5 separate regions of the Homo sapiens genome follow, and regions 1, 3, 4 and 5 are each linked to region 2. Evidence: promoter capture Hi-C in human tissues and cell types (Jung and others, 2019). All regions are on one chromosome and are shown on one strand. Each heading gives the region's core, a stretch centred on a gene start or on the middle of the fragment in contact. The rest is flanking DNA. Distances are from core to core; before and after follow the strand shown.

Region 1 (4,323 bases), core at 10-2,509, 270 kb before region 2:
GCGCGATCTTGGCTCACTGCAGCCTGGAACTCCTGGGCTTAAGCCATCTTCCAGCCTCGGCCCCAAGGTCACTGGGACTACAGGTGTGCGCCACCACACCTGGCTAATAAAAGAGCAAAGCTTTTATTCTCTATGGATTTGAAAAATCAGCTCCTTTTCCTTTCTCCGTTCAACTAAGGTTATATATTGGGAACATTTTGGGGGTAAATTTATTTCTAGCATTAGCCAATGTGTACAGCGGTTGCTTGGAAGATTTTGGTCACGGAAAGGGGGGCAGGGAGTGTATCCTGCAGCCCACAGAGTGCCCTCTCTCCCTCCCAGCCTCCTTCCTCAGCCCACGGGGTGCCCTCTCTCCCTCCCAGCCAGCTTCCTCAGCCCACGGGGTACCCCCTCTCTCCCAGCCTCCTTCCTGAGCCCACAGGGTGCCTCCTCTCTCTCCCAGCCACCTTCCTCAGCCCACGGGGTGCCCTCCCTCCCTCCCAGCCTCCTTCCTCAGCCCACGGGGTGCCCTCTCTCCCTCCCAGCCTGCTTCCTCAGCCCACGGGGTACCCCCTCTCTCCTAGCCTCCTTCCTCAGCCCACACGGTGCCCCCTCTCTCTCCCAGCCACCTTCCTCAGCCCACGGGGTGCCCTCTCTCCCTCCCAGCCTCCTTCCTCAGCCCACGGGGTGCCCTCTCTCCCTCCCAGCCTCCTTCCTCAGCCCACGGGGTACCCCCTCTCTCCCAGCCTCCTTCCTCAGCCCACACGGTGCCCCCTCTGTCTCCCAGCCACCTTCCTCAGCCCACGGGGTGCCCTCTCTCCCTCCCAGCCTCCTTCCTCAGCCAACGGGGTGCCCTCTCTCCCTCCCAGCCTTCTTCCTCTGGAGTGAAAAGCAAATCTAGACTTCGTACTCTTTTACCTATAAATAGTGTGGACCTCTACCGGGTAAGGGATGATTTAAAAAGATATCAGAGCCACTGGGGCAGCCACACACCTGATGCGGTTGAAGAATGAGCCCTCCAGTACTCTGTCCCCGCCCACCTCCCCCACGGCTCAGATGTCGTTTGTCATGGCCTTTGCTGTGCTTTTATCGTAATGTCAAGGTGGAAAATCACAGACATATTCAAAGGTCGGACGATGTAGGGAGCCCTGGGATGGGCAGTGGGCCCTGAGGGCCGTCCCACACCCTGTAGCTTTTCATTCCTGTGGATTTCATTAGGCAACGTTGCTCCTTAATGTCTTTAGTGAGATAGAATTCACATACCATAAAACTGCATTTAAAGCAAGCTTGTCCACACGCGGCTCAGGATGGCTTTGAATGAGACCCAACACAAATTCATAAACTTTCTTAAAACATTATGAGTTTTTTTTTTTTTAGCTCATCAGCTGTCACTAGTGTTAGTATATTTTATGTGTGGCCCAAGACAATTTTTCTTCTTCCATTGTGGCCCACGGAAGCCACAAGATTGGACAACCGACAACCCTGACATAAAGTGTACAAGTCAGCGTACATATTCATGGACTCTGAAGCCATCAGCACCACGTTGAAAACATTCTGGCTGGGGCAGTTCACACCTGTCATCCCAGCACTTAGGGAGGTGGAGGCAGGAGGATCGCCTGAGTCTAGGAGTTTGAGACCAGCCAGGGCAACATGGCAAAACCTCTATAGAAAATACAAAAATTAGTGGGGCATCATGGTGTACACCTGTGGTCCCAGCAACTCAGGAGGCTGAGGCGGGAGGACTGCTTCAGCCCAGGAGCTTGAGGTTGTAGTGAGGTTATGCACCGCTGCACTCCAACCTGGGTGATAGAATGAGACCGTGTCTCAAAAAAAAAAAAAAATTCTGATCAACCCCAGGATAAACCTGGCAATCTACCTCCTGTGTCTGTGGACCGGCCTGTTCCGTACATTTCGTGTCCACAAACCACATGCTGTGCCTTCTACGTCAGGTGTGGCACTGAGCACCTGAGGCAGGGCTCCTCATGCGGGCATTGGTGCATCCTGCCCGCCTCTTGCGGGACCATAGGTGGCAGAGGGGGTTTCTTCTAGAGCCCAAGGGTAGGTCTTGCTGTGAGGTGGGGTGGGGTTAGAGAGGTCAGAGGCTGAGGCAGGTGTGGGATGCATTGGTGTTGCTTTCCCGCGGCTCTGCCTCCTCTAGACACCCGTGCTGCTTGCCCACGCCTCTGCTGTCTGAGGGTAAGAAGCGGGTCACAGCATCACTGAAACCCCTTTTGGTTGGGATTCAATAGTAAAGACACAGGCCTTGCCCAGCCTTTCCCACCAATTCCTTTCATTTAAGATCCCTTTTCTAATGAGCTGCGCTCGAGGTCATGTGATGTCCTTAAATTTTCAGATTCCAGAGTATGACATTTGCCGTGGCATTTAATTGATGCTGCAAAAAAATAAGTATTAATTCACTCATTCGCAAAATACATATTTTTTTATTTCTATGGGTACTTAGTAGGTGTATCTTGGAATATGTTTTGGTTGCCTGTTCTGGGCCTGCCTGTGTGTGAGCCGTGGGGAGGGGCTCCTGTTCCCCTAATGCCCAGCGGGCAGGTCCTCCTCGCAGGGCTTCCCTGACCCCACACCGTGCTGGGTGCCAGGGTGGGCTTCACTCAGTGGGGAAACAGTGGGTTTTTGGTTGAAACAAGCCAAAGTGTTAATACTCGTTTCTTCTTTTGTTTTTCAGGTACTCTTTCGGTAAGTGAGATGCATTTAGAGAAAGCTCTGCGAGAGTTGAGCGTTGTGTGTTTGGTATGTATCTTCACGCACTTTTCCTGGCCTCTCCCCTTCCTTAGCCTCTGCCATCAGCCTTCCCAGTATGCACGGAGGGCAGTGATGGGCGCTTGTGATCTGATCCGTGCCTCCTCCCTGGATGTGGGAGCTCCTGGGCTTCCAGGCCCCGGGCACCTAGAGACGGATGGTCGCACGCATGATTGTCGGCATCTCACAGGTGTGATTACCACCGCTTCCCTGGGGCAGAGGGAAAGCACCCACAGGCCCATCCCCCGTGGACGCTCAAGGCTGTGTGCCCCTCGGCATAGAGAAGGTTCACGGTGCTCACGGCACTCACGCTGGTGGGCACTTTGGCTTGTGCTTTGTTTGGTGGAGGGGACCGGAGGTCTTCCCCATCCCACACAACGCAGTCAATACTGGAGGGTGGGAAGAGGGCAGCCACCCAGTGGACAGGACAGGGCCGGGAGGACGGTGGATGTGACCTCCATTGGGCCCGGAGGCCTCCAGAATGTCATGGGACACACGGTGGCTTGGTAAGCAGACCTGACTCCAGGACCTTGGGAAGGATGACCATACCCCCACCCCTGCCTTTCTCCATGACCTCAGGGCGCAGGCAGAGGGGCCGGTCTTTGCTGGTAAAGGCCCTGGCCTGGGCCTCGCACTCAGGCTCTCTCTGCCCCGAACTCTCTGGCTCTCGGCCCCTTTCCCAGGAGAGCAGGGGTGGCCTGTCTGGGCGTGGATCTTTGCCTGCCCCCTTCACAGTCTCAGCCTTCAGGGCCTGTGTCCTTGCGGTAGAGGTCACTTTCTTCATTCTTTTATTCCTCACGTATTTTCATTCCTTCAATATTGAGTACCAGTGATGCTGGAAATCTGGATCGAATCAAAGAAAGGAAGAACATCAGAATCTGTTAAAACGTAAATACAAAGGAACCTTATTCCTGATTTTAATCACCTTGAAAGGCAGGTTCCTGTAATTGCAGACGACCAGGCCACCTTGGCCACTGTCACTCATGGGTTTCCTGGCTGCTGGGTGCCACCTGGCTCGGGGTGCACCGTCAGGGCGTGCGGCTCTGCGTGCTTGCGTCTGTTCATTGTTTCCATGTTTTTCTTAAAGCAAGAAGCAAGGAATTATTTCAGGAATTCCTTTTCTGTTTGCAAATCTGACACAACCTGGTTGGAACCAGCTGGTTTTTTGCCTGCCAGTCCTGTGGCTGCATCAAGGGAGCAGAGTGCTCACGCGTGTGGGAGCGAGTAGACGTGAGGAAGCGTGTGCGGCGGCCTGAGTCCCCAGGCCTCCCCTAGAGTGCTCACGCGTGTGGGAGCGAGTAGACGTGAGGAAGCGTGTGTGGTGACCTGAGTCCCTGGGCCTCCCCCGCAGTGCGCCAGGATACATTCAGTATCAAAATGCCCACAGAGAAAACTACATTCTTCAACATTTAGATAAACAAATCTTTTCTTAGTAAATTTTATTTATTTAAAATTACAACAGGGTGGGTGCAGTGGCTTATGCCTATAATCTTAGCAGTTTGGGGGCTGAAGCAGGACCTCTTGAGCCCAGGAATTCCAGACCAGCCTGGGCAACATAGCAAGACCCTATCACCACAA
Region 2 (2,528 bases), core at 29-2,528:
AGCCTTCCCTAAAACCTGCCTCCAGCCTGGTGTTGGCAGAGCAGGCACTCCCCAGTGTCACACTGGGAGCTGCTGCTGAACCCTCAGAGAAGCCTCTTCCCCGCCCACTGCCAGTGCAGGGACACCAGGCCCCAGAAGCATAACTGTGGTCAGCAAGACCCTTGGAGCAGAGGGCTCAGGACAGACACGGCCACACCTGCAACCCAACACCCTGCAAGACAGCCGCCGCCTTGGCCCCTGCCTCCCCCCTCGCTACAGACAGAGTGACAGGACCGCAGTGAGGGGTGCCAACAGCAGGGGCTGCCCTGGGTGGCTGTGGCCTGTGCCCTTGCCTGGAGATGTCCCCGGCACACGTGCTCTGGTACTGGGAGCTCCGGGTGCCCGGAGGCCGGGACGGTGGGCTGGAGCACACAGCACGGGGACGTGGCGCACACAGAGCCCACAGGAAGAGCAAACGCTGCTGCCACCCCGGCAGGAGGGAGGGAGAGCCCGCGGGGAAGGGTCCTGTTATCCCTGGAGCACCACTGGACTGAGCGGTGCCGGCTCCCAGCGGGGTGCGCTGTAGGGGCCCCGACAACCCTCAGTGCGGAGGTCACAGAATTATCAGGGCCAAGGACACCCGGAGCACCTCGGTCCAATCCCCCAGGCTGCGAAGCGGATTAGGCCGAGCCCGCGCCCAGCCCCTCCCTCGTCCCGCGCACCACGGGTACCTTGTGGATCTCCTCCCGCAGCTCCTCGTCCGTCTGCTCGGCTTCTAGGGGGACAAAGAGACTCCACTGCGGACCCAGCAGGCCCGCCGGACCGCTGCGGGCCGGGCCCCCGGGAGGCTACGGCCGCTACCTGAGTAGTCCACGATGTGGGTGGGCACCTTCTCCGGGGTGACGTCCGCGGGGATGGTGATCTCCTCCGCGCGGGGAGGGACCTGCAAGGGACCCGCGCGCTCACCAGGGACCCCCGGCTGGGCCCGCTCCCACCCCCGCGGCGGGCGTGCCCCTTACCTCCTCGGGGAACTCCTCGCCCACCAGGGACAGGATCAGCGACGTCTTCCCCACCTGGGCTGCGCGGGGCGAGGCGGTCAGCGCGAGGGCCAAGGTCACGGCGCCCCCCGACCCCCGAGACCCTCACCCCGCCTCACGGCCGCCGCAGCTCCGAGACCCCCGGGCCGGCGCCTACCCTCGCCCAGTAACAGGATGCGCACGTCCCGCCTCATAGCTGCCGCCCGGAGCCGCTCCCCGACCCGGAACCCGGCCCCGACCTGGTCCTCAAGCCTTTCGCTCTGCCCCCGCGCCCGCCCCGCACTTCCGGTTCTCGGCCCCGCGCTGTCCCCACACTTCCGGCCCCGCCCGCACAGCCGCACCAGCGAGCCGGGCGGGCCAGAGCGGACAGGCTGTGCGGCGCGCCACCGTGTGGACGCGCCGGCCACGGCGGACAGCGCAGGGTCCTGGCGCCCTGGCAGGCCGAGCGGCCATTGCTTCACGGCACCACAGGGGCCTTGACAAACAGCCGATTAAGGGACGGGCAGAGGCTGAGCTCAGGCCAGGAGTGACCAGAGACAGCCAGTGCAACAATGCAGCAATAATGCAATAAATGCCCATGTTTATTACAAGATAGAAACATTAAAGATTTCTTAGGCAAAAGGGCAACAGGTATGAAAGTATTCACAGGGCGCCAAATTTACAACAGCTTGCTCCAGGCGATTTACGTGAATCCTGGCCTGTCCCAGCATGAGGCCATTGACAACCTGGCGCCTCTGCCAAGCCTGTGTCCAGGTGCCTGGCATGACCAGGCGTGATGCCCACCACCACAGTCCCTGCTGCATCTCAGAGGCCGGGGACCTCCCACACAAGGATCTCGTTGCGGGCGGCCGTGAAGAGCAGCCTGGCGGACGGTGTAAACCTGCACAGGTGCACTGCGTTGTCGTGGCCGGCAAAGTCTTGGGCAGTCCCCATGGCACAGTCTACCAGCCTCAGCATGCACTCTGTGGGTAGACGGTGCAGGTGGGCCAGGGCCAGGACCAGGCAGCACTCAGAGGGCTCCCCCAACCCACCCAGACTGTCCCCACTGGGCATGATGCTGGTCGGGGGAGCTGGTGCTAAAAGGGCTCCTGGCTGTGCCCTCCACGTGCCACTGGGACTAGGGGGTCCATCACTGCCAGGCTGTCGGCCTGCAGCTGGGCCAGTTCCCTCCTTAAAAGTCGCTGCCACCCGTGCATTCAGGCCCTGTGCTGGGCGCTGTGCCTGGTTCCTCACCTGCCTCATCATCTCCTGACTCCAGGACCCTCTCTAGGGCAGATGTCCTCACCCCACCCCAGAGACGAGGAGCCCGGGGCACAGGTGAGGCACCTGTCTTGGAACAGGGCACCAGTCAGCCCACTTGGCCCCCACCTAAGACAGGCCCAAACTGCATCCACCAGCACTCACCAGCAAAGCCAACAGCCAGGAGGTGGGTCCCGGGGGACAGGCTCAGGGACATGGCAAAAAAGGGCAGTGGTATCTTCTCCACCACCTGTGAGCAGCCAGCGTGAGGCT
Region 3 (2,700 bases), core at 1-2,500, 300 kb after region 2:
TGAGATCCCTCTGCAGATCCCAGCTGCTGTCTGCAGTGGCCCCTGGGGCCTGGGCTTGGTTACTTGGAGACCACAGGTGCCTGTGCGAGGGTGGGGCTGTGTGCTCTGCTGGCCTGTGGGTGGCTAGAGATGGGGAGAAGGACTCCCTATGGTCCTGTTCCCTGGCGAGGCTGTGGTGAGACCCATGGCGCCCAGGAGCCCTGAGCCCACCACTGGGGCCGGGAGCTGTGGACTCCGAGACCCCTGCTCCTGGCCCCTGTGTGGCCCTGATGCCAGCCTGCCTGGGGCATGGAGGATCCCCCTCTGCTGCTGTGGTCACCATAGGGACGGGAGACGGAGGTTTCCCCCAGAGCTGATGGGCACTGGGGATGCAGGCTCCCGCCCCGCCCCTCCCTTTTTCCTGGCTCTGGAGCCTTGGGTCCCTGAGAAGAGCTTCCTTGGACTGGGGTGCTCTGCTGCTCTGGGGGTTTGGCCCAGAAGGAACCCCTACCCAGCCCTGTCCACCCACCCCAGCGTTCCTGGGCCCCCCTCTGGGAGCTTCCTCTTGGTCCCAGGAGCTGCGGTGGTGTCTGCCCCCTGCACTGGGCTCTGTGCCCTGTGGGTGTTCAGGAGACTGGACTGTCTCTGCTCCTCATGCAAACCTTGTGGGGGAAGCAATGACCAGGAGCAGCACCTGGCCCCTCCCTGAGGCCTGTGAGTGTCTCGGATCCGCCCTGGAGAAGTGAGTGGCTGAGACCCGGGTGGGGCCCTCCTACCCTTGGCTCTGGGGGCTTCCCTTCTGGGTCTTGTCCGGGATATGGCCTTCCTGAAGGTCTTACCTCCCCCAGCCGCCCTGCACTTGACCACCAAAGCAATCTCTAAGCTTATAAAGGAGAAACATATATATATGGGGTTTTTTGGAGTAAAGGAAAATTCTAAGATATTAAGACATATTTTTATGTAGATCTGATCTATCTGTGTTTGGTGAATTTAATATTCTACATTGATTTTTCAAACTAAACGAGTTTTTACATTTTTTCTGTGCTCCTTCCCGGGTAGGGTAAGTGGGGCCCGGGAGAACAAGCACCGCCCCGCCCGTGCCGCCCTTCGCGGAAACGCCGGGGCCGCACGTAGCTAACGGTGCCTTGAGCTGCTGCTGCTGTATGTGGGGTGTTTTTTACGGTCCCTAAAGACGGAAGCGGGGCGGGACGAGGGGGTAGACGGATGGCTTTTACAGCCAGTCAGCGGTGGGAGGAGGGCCAGGCGCGGCAGATCGGCTTCCGGTTCCGGTGGGCTCTGAACCCTGAAAGGTGGGCGCGGGCAGGTGGGGTGTGGGGGGGCGCCGGGGCAGAAGGGGAGGGGCAGGTGGGTGCGGGACAGGGGCCGGAGTGAGAACCGGGGGCCGGGGTAGGGGGTAGCGGGTGAGAGCCGGGGGCCGGGGTAGCGGGTGAGAGCCGGGGGCCGGGGTAGCGGGTGAGAGCCGGGGGCCGGGGTAGCGGGTGAGAGTCGGGGGCCGGGGTAGGGGGTGAGTGCCGGGGGCCTGGCCAGGCTGCGACTGACTGCGAGCCCCCACCTCCCGCCAGGCTCGCGATGCCTCTACACAAGTATCCCGTGTGGCTCTGGAAGCGGCTGCAGCTGCGGGAGGGCATCTGTTCCCGCCTGCCCGGCCACTACCTGCGCTCCCTGGAGGAGGAGCGGACGCCCACTCCCGTGCACTATAGGCCTCATGGGGCCAAGTTCAAGATCAACCCCAAGAACGGGCAGCGGGAGCGTGTGGAGGACGTGCCCATTCCCATCTACTTTCCCCCCGAATCCCAGCGGGGGTTGTGGGGCGGCGAGGGCTGGATCCTGGGCCAAATATATGCCAACAACGACAAGGTGGGTCCGCAGGCGGCCTTCAGGGGCTCCTCTCAGGGCTTGGCTGTGCCGGCTCTGTGCCGGACGCCCGGGGTACCTGGAGAGACCTGGGTGGGCCCTGGGGATTACAGCCTGGAGGCGACACATCTCCGGCAAAGGAGCACGCTGAGTGAAGAACCGCAGTTCTGGCAAACAGGACTGATAAAGTAGGGGTGAGGTGGGGTGACTCAGGCCGGGGGAGCAACCAGAGGCCGTGGGGAGTCGGGGTAAAGTTAGGATGGGGAGGAGGCCTGTGTGATGAGCAGAGCAGGTGGGAGAGGCGAGCAGAGCAGGTGGGGGAGGCGAGCAGAGCTTCGAGGCTGCTTGTGGTGGACTTCCTGGCGGGACTGCTGAAGCCTGTGGGGAGACTTGTGTCACCTCCAGGTTGGAATGTGACAACCTGTAAACTGTGGGGTCGCACATGTTTCTGAAACACATGCAGCAACCATGTGACCAGGGCGGGAACGCCCAGCTTGTTGGGGAGCAGCTGACTTCTGGGTACACAGTCAGGACCCGGGTCGGGCTGGGGCGGCACTGGGCTGGGGGCCGGCCCAGTTAGCTCTAGGTCCCCAGTCTGACAGCAGTGGTTCTGTGATGGAGCCTCCGGGGGGGAGGTGAGGGCAGTTGCCTGGGCCCCCCTTGGTATGTAAGAGAAAGCAGCAGTACTCATGGAGGCTCTGTTGCACCCTCAGCTCTCCAAGAGGCTGAAGAAAGTGTGGAAGCCACAGCTGTTTGAGCGAGAGTTCTACAGTGAGATCCTGGACAAGAAGTTCACAGTGACTGTGACCATGCGGACCCTGGACCTCATCGATGAGGCTTATGGGC
Region 4 (3,907 bases), core at 656-3,155, 310 kb before region 2:
GCAGGCACACACCACAGGGGGAACCGGCAGCAGAGGCCGGGGCCAGGAGGCTCTGACCAGGGAAACCCGCCTGCCGTGCGCTCCGGAGCCTCCCGTGGCACCAGGCAGTACACTCCTCTGGGAGAACCGGCCGGCGCCTGTTTGGGAAGGTTGGTATGCTTACGACAGCCAAAGAAGAACAAGCCCCACGCCTCCCATCTTCCTCCTTCTATTTCCCCCTATTCCGGGCCTGCTGTTCCCTCCCTCTGGGGCTTTCTAAGGGAGGCGGGGGAGGCGGGCAGGACCCAGCCGGCGGTGGACAAAAGCGAGGCTTCCCGGGAACGGTGCCGGCCTTCGGCGGGCAGCTGGGCTGCTGTCCCTCCATTCCCAGACACCCAGAAGCCCTGGCAGGGCCCAGGCGCCCGTCCTCACTGAGCCACAGGACACACTCCTTGGGACTCTTCCCGAGGCTCACCTCCAACCGCCTGTGCGGCAGGACTTGGGGGAGCAGGGGCCTGCCGTCCACAGCGCCCCGTGGCTGCGCCCTAGATCCAGACAGAAGGCAGGAGGTGCAAATACGCAAGCTCCAAGCTCCCTTCTTCCAGGTGAGGAGCAGGATACGGGAACCAGAGCCCCAAACCAAGAGAACCATTTGAAACCCAACCAGAGGACACTCGGTGGGGGCGGCCTGTCCTGAGCAACAAGTTCTTCACTCTGCAGTCCTAATTTCTGGAAAACTGACCGGCCCCACCACGCCAAGGCGTGCACACGGCGCACCCCGTCATCTCCACTCCTGCCCTCCCTGCTTCGGACCGAGGGTGTCCAGGAGAGGGAGAAACTGCGGGGAGGGTACTCGCAGGCAAACCTGCTGCCCACCCATCCGCCTGCCGCACTCCCTCCCCATGGGTGGTCCAGGAGCTAGAGGAGCTGAGCCCTTTCTAAGGAGGGAGCACCTCCAGAGAGCCGCATGCAACTTGCTGTCGTGCCGGGCGTGCCTCCCGGGGCTGGGGCCACTCGCAACGGCTGGAGGGCACGTCGGGGTGCCAGCCATGGCCCTCCGCAGGGTGTTCCCCGCCAGGAGAACTGGCTCCAGAGCGCACCCGCCACGAGGGTGCACACCCCAGGCGCTGCCCTCCGCGGATCCCGACTCCCATAGCTGGCGCCGGACCCCGGCTGGCCAGAGGATGTTTTTCCACTGGGACCCGCCCTGACACCCGCCCGGGGTGCAGAGCCCGGAGCCTGCGTGTGGCCACCACCTCCGCGAGCTCTGCGCCCTCCAGGCCCCCGCTCGCAGTCCGAGACCAGGGGCGGCCAAGGTCCCGAACCCCGCCCCCGGGGCGCCGGCACTCACCGCCACAGCTTGCCCAGCGTCTTGCTGAGCTCGGCGTTGTGCAGGTGCGGGTACTGGTCGGCCAGCTTGCGGCGCGCCGCCTGCGCCCACACCATGAATGCGTTCATGGGCCGCTTCACATGCGGCTTGGCTTTGAGCGCGCCGCCGCCGCCGCCGCGCACCGGCATGGGCACCAGACTCCAGTCGTAGCCCTTGAGCACCTGCGACACGGCGTCGCGGATGCAGGCCGGGAAGCGCTCGTCCGCCGCCTCCGCCGGGTCGCCCCGGGCGCCCCCCACCGCGACCCCCGCGCGGCCCAGGCCCTCGGAGCCGGCGGGAGACGGCGGCGCGTCCGAGTCCGAGTCCTCCACGTGCGACATGGAGCTGGCGGTGCCGGACGGGCTGCAGGGCGGCTGGGAGCGGGCCTCGCTCATGTCCAGCATCGGGGCCGCGCGCGGAGGGGCGCGCACAGGAGACGCGCACCGGGGCCGGCGCCCGGGGCTGCCCTGCGGTCGCTCCGGGACCCGAGGTCGCCGCGCGGTGGCCCCGACCCTCGCCCCTGCCGCCGCCGCCGCCGCCGCCGAGGCTCGGGTCCCGCTGCGGGACCCGCAACAAGTTTCTTTAAGCGGCGGCCCCGCGGCCCCGCCCCGCGCCCGGCTACCCATTGGCGGAGCGCGCCCCGATCCCCCGGAGGCGGAGCCCGGCCGCCCCCGCCCCCCCACCCATAAAGAAAGCTCCGCGGCTCTCGCCGCGCCCCCGCCTGCCCCGCCCGGCGCCGCACCACGTGGGCCAGGCGCCCCACGCCTGGAGCTCCCCTCTCTGGAGCCCCGGGAAAGGAAGCGGGGCAGGGAGGCCGGGTGGGAGCAGGGGGGTCTCCGGCGCTTCCTCTCCTCTGCGGGCGCCGCGCGGCTCCTGAGAGTCCGCCCCCCGTCCTGACGCTCAGCTAGGAAGCGGGTCCTCGGGCCCCTCCCCCGACACACACACACACACACACACACACACACACACACACACACACTCTCTCTCTCTCTCTCTCTCTCTCTCTCTCTCTCTCTCTCTCTCACACACACACACACACACACAGCCCGTCTCGCGCCTGAGGTCTCGCCCGCAGGCCGGTGGCGCGGGGTCAGCTGCTGCCTGCGGTCCAGGACAGGGTCGGTTCCGCCGCGCAGCGCCCAGGCCCAGCTCGTCCAGAGTCTGCGGACAGCGCACGTCCAGGTAACGCGCTTCAAGGGGCCGCGGCTCGGAGCTGGGGGACCCCGGGCCGCCCTGCCCATACGAGTGCGAGCGTGGAGAGCGCGGGCGGGGGCGCGGTCCCGGGGGCCGGCCAGCTGGAGGGGGCGGGAGCGCTGGGCGGGGCCTGCGCTGACCCCGGCGCTGAGTCCCTGGGGCCGCCGGGCGGATGGCGTGGCCGGACGCGGGGGCCCCGGGCCTTCCGGGCGTGACCTAGGGCTCGGGGGCGGGGAGGCCCCTCCGGCGGGGCGGCCCTGGGTGGTCCGGCAGAGGCGGAGGCCGCTCCGAGCCTGTGAGCCCTGGGCGCCTGCGGAGGCGGGGAGAGGGCGGGGTGTGCCGCCCTGGTGGGGACCGCGGGGTCGGAGAGGGGACATTGCCCCCCCCGAGGCGAACGTCCAACCGCGGGTCCGGGTCCCCGCCCAAGGCCGCCCCGCGAGGTGGCCTCGGCCCGGCCGTCCCCGAGGGTGGCTCGGATCCTTTCAACCAGCGCGCTGGAGGCGAAGGGGCTGCGCCATTCCGGGTCAGGCAGCCAACGCGGGACACGCGCGTCTCCGAGCTTGCGGCCCGCGAAACCCGGGTGACCTACCGCGCCGGTGCCCTCAAAGCCCCCACGCCCGGGCCGGTGGCCGCTGCAGCCACTGAGCCACGCGGTCTCCCCGGCCCGGTCGGCAGAAGGAGCTGGTCCGTTACTAGAAAAGTCCAGATGCAAAGTCGGGGGTCGTGCTGCCGCTTCCTGCCAGCGCACCGCACCCACCTGGGGCCGCCACCGACCGCACAGGACGCGCCTCCTACCCCCTGTTCTGGCCCGGCCGAGAGCTGGTGCCCCCAGCGGCCGCCCGCCCCCGTCCGCAGACCCCGGGGCCCTTGCTGCTTTGCATTGGGAACAACCGGAGCCAGGCCCGGAGCTGAGGGGGCCAGGGCCTTTGGAGGAAGCATTGGCCTCCAGGCTGAAGAGCAAGGGCCGTGTCACCTGCCCGGAGGGCGGTCTCATCTCTGCAGCCAGGTCAGAGGAAGCAGCGGTGGGGAGACGGAGTGCGCGAGTTGGGAGGCTCCACGCATCGTAGGTGGAGAGCTGGCTGCCAGCCTGGCCTGCCCTCTCTTCCCCGTCCCACCATCTCGCTTGGCTCCGGCACCTGCCTGGGAAGACCCACACCTCCGTCTGCAGTGCCTCTTCCCCCTGGAGGCCCTGCCCTCCGCTCGGGGTCCCCGCATCCTTCCGTGGCCCTCAGAGCATCGCCTGGGGCGCCCGCGGAACTCATCTGTTAGGCCTGGGATGCAGGCAGGCAGAAGTGGGGGTTTAAGTGGAAGCAGTGAGGGTGGGGGTCCGGTCCAAACTGTGCCACCTTCCACCCCCTGCCCCTG
Region 5 (3,773 bases), core at 918-3,417, 440 kb after region 2:
AAGAAAACCAAGAAAAAATTCATTCTGAGTATATACAGAACTGCTGGACAGAGGTCATCCTATACGTGTGGTACACGTACAAATATGACATAAGAAGAAGTATGAATTATTGCAGTCATTATTAAACAACGAAGTATGCCAAATTAGTCATCAGGTTTCAAAGAATCATAGCCTTCTTTCCATAGGTCCCGCCACGTTTTAAGGAAACGTGCCTTTTCTGTACATTTGAAGGCAAGTTCTTCCACTTGAGCTGATACTGCAGATGTGGCTTCAAGAAGTTTGGTTAATGAAAAGGCTGCGTCTCCGATCTGCAGCCCCACTTCCTCCAGCGGGTCCACCGTTCGGCCGCTGCTCCTGCTCGGAACTGGCCAGCCCAAACTCACTGGGCTGCCAGGGTAAGATGCTGCAGAGGCGTCTGAAGAGGAGGGAGAAGGAGGCGGCGGGGGCGGCGAAGAAACCTGCAACTTCTCAGGGTCGGCCATGGGGAAGGGCTGGCACCGCGGAATCCGACCCGAGCAGCCCAACGGACACCCTATTTATTTATTTTAAATAGAGAGCAGGGGCCTGGCGTTCTGGCTCACAGCTGTAATCCGAGGACTTTGGGAGGCTGAGGTGGGCGGATCACCTGAGGTTAGGAGTTTAAGACCAGCCTGGCCAACATGGCGGAACCCCGTCTCTGCAAAAGTACAAAAAAAAAGTTAGTCGGGAATGATGGCGGGTGCCTGTAATCCCAGCTACTGGGGAGACTGAGACAAGAGAATCGCTTGAACCCAGGAGTCAGAGGATGCAGGAAGCCGAGATCGCGCCACTGCACTCCAGGCTGGGCGACAGAGGGAGACTCCGTCTCAAAAATAAATAAAATACGGCAGGGCGCGGTGGCTCACGCCTGTAATCTCAGCACTTTGGGAGGCCGAGGCAGGCAGATCACAAGGTCAGAAGTTCAAGACCAGCCTGGCCAATACGGTACAACACCGTGTCTACCGAAAATACAAAAATCAGCTGGGCATGGTGGCTGGCTACTTGAGGTCAAGACTTTGAGACCAGCCTGGCCAGCATGGTGAAACCCCGTCTCTACTTAACATTCAAAAATTAGCCGGAGGGGGTGGCGGGCGCCTGAAATTCCAGCTACTGGGGAGACTGAGGCAGGAGAATCGCTTCAACCCGGGAGGCGGAGCTTACAGTGAGCCGAGATCGCGCCACAGCATTCCAGCCTGGGTGACAGAGCAAGACTCCGTCTCAAAAAAAAAATAAACAAATAAAAAATAAAGACCGGGCGTGGTGGCTCATGCCTGTAATCCCAGCACTTTGGGAGGTTGAGGCAGGAGAATCGCTTGAACCCAGGAGGCGGAGGTTGCGGAGAGCCAAGATCGCGCCATTGCACTCTAGCCTGGGCGAAACTCCGTCTCAAAAATAAATAAATAAATAATAGAGGTTTAATATAATAGAAGTATATGCCAGACTATGCACACATAAGTGCATGCTATAATTCTATTATCACATAAAATAACTGCTTACATATGCCTTTTCTTTAGTCCCTGGGACAGTAGACCATGAGCTCACAAAAGGACGACCACGAGGTTGTAATCATAGAACCTAATATTAATGCCATGACTGATGGCCAAACGTGGTGGTTCACACCAGTAATCCCAATACTTTGCCGGGCTGAGGCGGGAGGATAAGGAGCCGGGGAGGTCGAGGCTGCAGTGAGCGGTAATCGCGCCACTGCATTCCAGCCTGGGCGACGGAGCAAGACCCTCGCTCTAAATAAATAAATAAATAAATAAATAAAATTCCATGCTTTATTTAACTTTCACAAAAATCATATGAGGGGCACCTTTAGAACCCTCATTTCACAGATTTAAAAAAACGAGCGTCGGGGAGCTAAATAATATGCTCACGGTTTCATGGCTAGCTTAGAAAAAGCACGGATTCATCTTGTTTTTGATTGACTGTATTTCATTTTATTGTAGTTTACCCTCCGTAGAGACTCGTTTGAGGTCCTGGGGGTCTAGAGTAAAATCAGGGTTGGGATTTTGGTTCCGCCGTTGGACAACTTGCGACCACTCAGAGCCTCAGCCTCCCTAAGCACCCACCCCAGAAACTACATTTCCCAGCAGGGCGTGCGCCGGCGCCGTCGTACTTCCTCCCGGCGTCCCCCGCGGCGGGAAAGAGCCGAGTGGGCTCGAGGCCGACGCGACCATCGTTTGTCGACGCCGCTGCCACCGCCTGCCTGAGAGAAGTCGTCGCGGCCGACCCCGTCGCCTCCGCCGGCTACCATGTCCGCCCAGGCGCAGATGCGGGCCCTGCTGGACCAGCTCATGGGCACGGCTCGGGACGGTGAGTCAGAGCGGCCAACCAGGCGAGGGTCTGGGGTGGGAGTGAGGCGAGGCCGCCGGGCGGCCTGAGGCGGGGGCCGCGATCGTCTGCGCCTGCGCCTGCGCGGGGCATCGCTCCTCCTCCCCCGCGCTCCGACCGCAGGCGCCGGGCCTTTGTCTAAGCCGGTGCGTCTCTGAGGCGGCCGTGGGTCCAGGTCGGGCTCCTCTCTCGGAGTCTGCGCCATGGATGGGGCTTCAGCCTCCTTCCTATGTACCGTCCTGCTACTTCCTCCCCGGCGGGCGCCGCGGCTCCGTGCCCCTCCGCGAACTGTGGAGTCGGCGGAGGGCTGGAATCAGCGTGGGCTCCAGGTCGCTGGCAGCCGGGTGGCAGAACTCTTCCGAGGCTCCTTGGGAAGAAGCTACACCCGAGGGAGCCGGATGGGCCTCGAAAACCTGGCCCGCTCTGGTTCTGTACCATTGCAAGGGGAACCGTAAACTGAGCTTTTCTAACGTGGGTTTCTGCCAAGTACTTTTCCAGCTGCCCCCTTCCCCCCAGCACACAGGAGAGCCTCTGTGTAGCCAGCGCTTGACAGTCGTTAGGTAGGTTGTACTGTGTAGGGAGGAGCTCAAGATCATGATGGTTGTCACAGGAGAAAGCGGTTGCATCTTTGCAAAACTATATACCTGCTGTGGTTTGTGTTTTCTTTTCTGCTGAGTAATGAAGTTGTAAGTTCACACTGGCACATTCTCAGGGCTGTGCAGATTATTTGCACTTTATTTCATAGGTGAATAAGTGCTTTTTAGCTTTCTTTGTATATTGAGTTGCTTTTGAATTGCTTCCCATATTTTTATTTCATACAAACTGAACAATTGTGGCCCCTCTATTTTATTTATAAAGGTTCAGTGTATCTTTGCCTGCCTACATCAATCTGCAAGGGAGTTGCAGAAAGCCTCATGTTCATCGAGCCGTGAGTCACAACCAATTTCTAAGCTGTTATAACAAAAAAGTGTTTGCTTTTTTTCACAAGTAACTTTAAAAGTGTAGTTTAGAAAGAAAACATTTTCAATAAAAAGACACTACATTAATCCTGGATGCTTGCAAATCCTAAAATATATTCCTCCTCTAGCGTTGCACAGCTCTGTGTTGTATACACAGACTAGCTTTAAAATTTGTCACATACCACTTTACCTTTACTTTTATGTATCATTCCCCCGACTTCCTTACTGCAGGTGTGGGCAAGAAAACTTTTCCTTTAACACTTTTCAACAGCGGGCATAAAATTCTGCAGCTGAGGTCTTGAAGAATGCAGATGGGTACAGTATGTGTTGGAGCTCACAGTGTGTATTGACTAACCTAGTTCCTTTTTTGCTTTTTTTGGTATTGTCTTGTTAAAAGTGACTCCCAGGTAGCAACTCTCTTTTTTAAGGGTGGGAACGAAAGGGACGTAGGAAGAATAG

What was found. The method cuts DNA at HindIII sites, captures the fragments that hold promoters and counts their contacts. A contact is called where the count stands out against the background at its distance.
Region 1: a contact is called between a fragment that was not itself captured here and the fragment with the promoter of RHOT2 in region 2, in 4 of the 25 tissues and cell types used here (liver, lymphoblastoid cells, mesendoderm cells and 1 more).
Region 3: the fragment with the promoter of MRPL28 here is called in contact with the fragment with the promoter of RHOT2 in region 2 in 1 of the 25 tissues and cell types used here (mesendoderm cells).
Region 4: a contact is called between the fragment with the promoter of SOX8 here and the fragment with the promoter of RHOT2 in region 2, in 5 of the 25 tissues and cell types used here (IMR-90 fibroblasts, dorsolateral prefrontal cortex, lymphoblastoid cells and 2 more).
Region 5: a contact is called between the fragment with the promoter of LUC7L here and the fragment with the promoter of RHOT2 in region 2, in 1 of the 25 tissues and cell types used here (dorsolateral prefrontal cortex).

The regions. Positions count from the first base shown.
Region 1 is chr16:932,603-936,925 of GRCh38, reverse strand. LMF1 (lipase maturation factor 1) reads left to right here. Exons shown (of 11, transcript NM_022773.4): 3 at 2,672-2,682. It overlaps LMF1-AS1 (LMF1 antisense RNA 1), which reads right to left. Exons shown (of 2, transcript NR_110946.1): 2 at 2,402-3,588. Among named protein-coding and RNA genes, the nearest start is that of LMF1-AS1, 14 kb to the right of the region's middle. The HindIII fragment of the contact is 3,145 bases long and covers 1-2,831 here.
Region 2 is chr16:666,882-669,409 of GRCh38, reverse strand. RHOT2 (ras homolog family member T2) reads right to left here and starts at 1,278. Exons shown (of 19, transcript NM_138769.3): 1 at 1,174-1,278; 2 at 999-1,057; 3 at 841-922; 4 at 711-754. The coding sequence starts at 1,210. WDR90 (WD repeat domain 90) reads right to left here. Exons shown (of 41, transcript NM_145294.5): 40 at 2,421-2,505; 41 at 1,580-1,978. The coding sequence ends at 1,821. RefSeq lists silencers at 811-900, 1,001-1,100, 1,161-1,500 and an enhancer at 886-1,567. The HindIII fragment of the contact is 52,780 bases long and covers 1-2,528 here.
Region 3 is chr16:369,088-371,787 of GRCh38, reverse strand. MRPL28 (mitochondrial ribosomal protein L28) reads left to right here and starts at 1,250. Exons shown (of 6, transcript NM_006428.5): 1 at 1,250-1,289; 2 at 1,563-1,857; 3 at 2,568-2,700. The coding sequence starts at 1,570. PGAP6 (post-GPI attachment to proteins 6) reads left to right here. Exons shown (of 13, transcript NM_021259.3): 13 at 1-1,000. The HindIII fragment of the contact is 14,100 bases long and covers 1-2,700 here.
Region 4 is chr16:979,768-983,674 of GRCh38, reverse strand. SOX8 (SRY-box transcription factor 8) reads right to left here and starts at 1,905. Exons shown (of 3, transcript NM_014587.5): 1 at 1,331-1,905. The coding sequence starts at 1,752. It overlaps CEROX1 (cytoplasmic endogenous regulator of oxidative phosphorylation 1), which reads left to right and starts at 2,062. Exons shown (of 3, transcript NR_164343.1): 1 at 2,062-3,907. It also overlaps a transcript of LMF1 not described here. The HindIII fragment of the contact is 8,118 bases long and covers 1-3,907 here.
Region 5 is chr16:227,843-231,615 of GRCh38, reverse strand. LUC7L (LUC7 like) reads left to right here and starts at 2,167. Exons shown (of 10, transcript NM_201412.3): 1 at 2,167-2,337. The coding sequence starts at 2,277. It also overlaps the pseudogene C4orf46P1. RefSeq lists an enhancer at 1,795-2,491 and a silencer at 2,324-2,553. The HindIII fragment of the contact is 19,974 bases long and covers 1-3,773 here.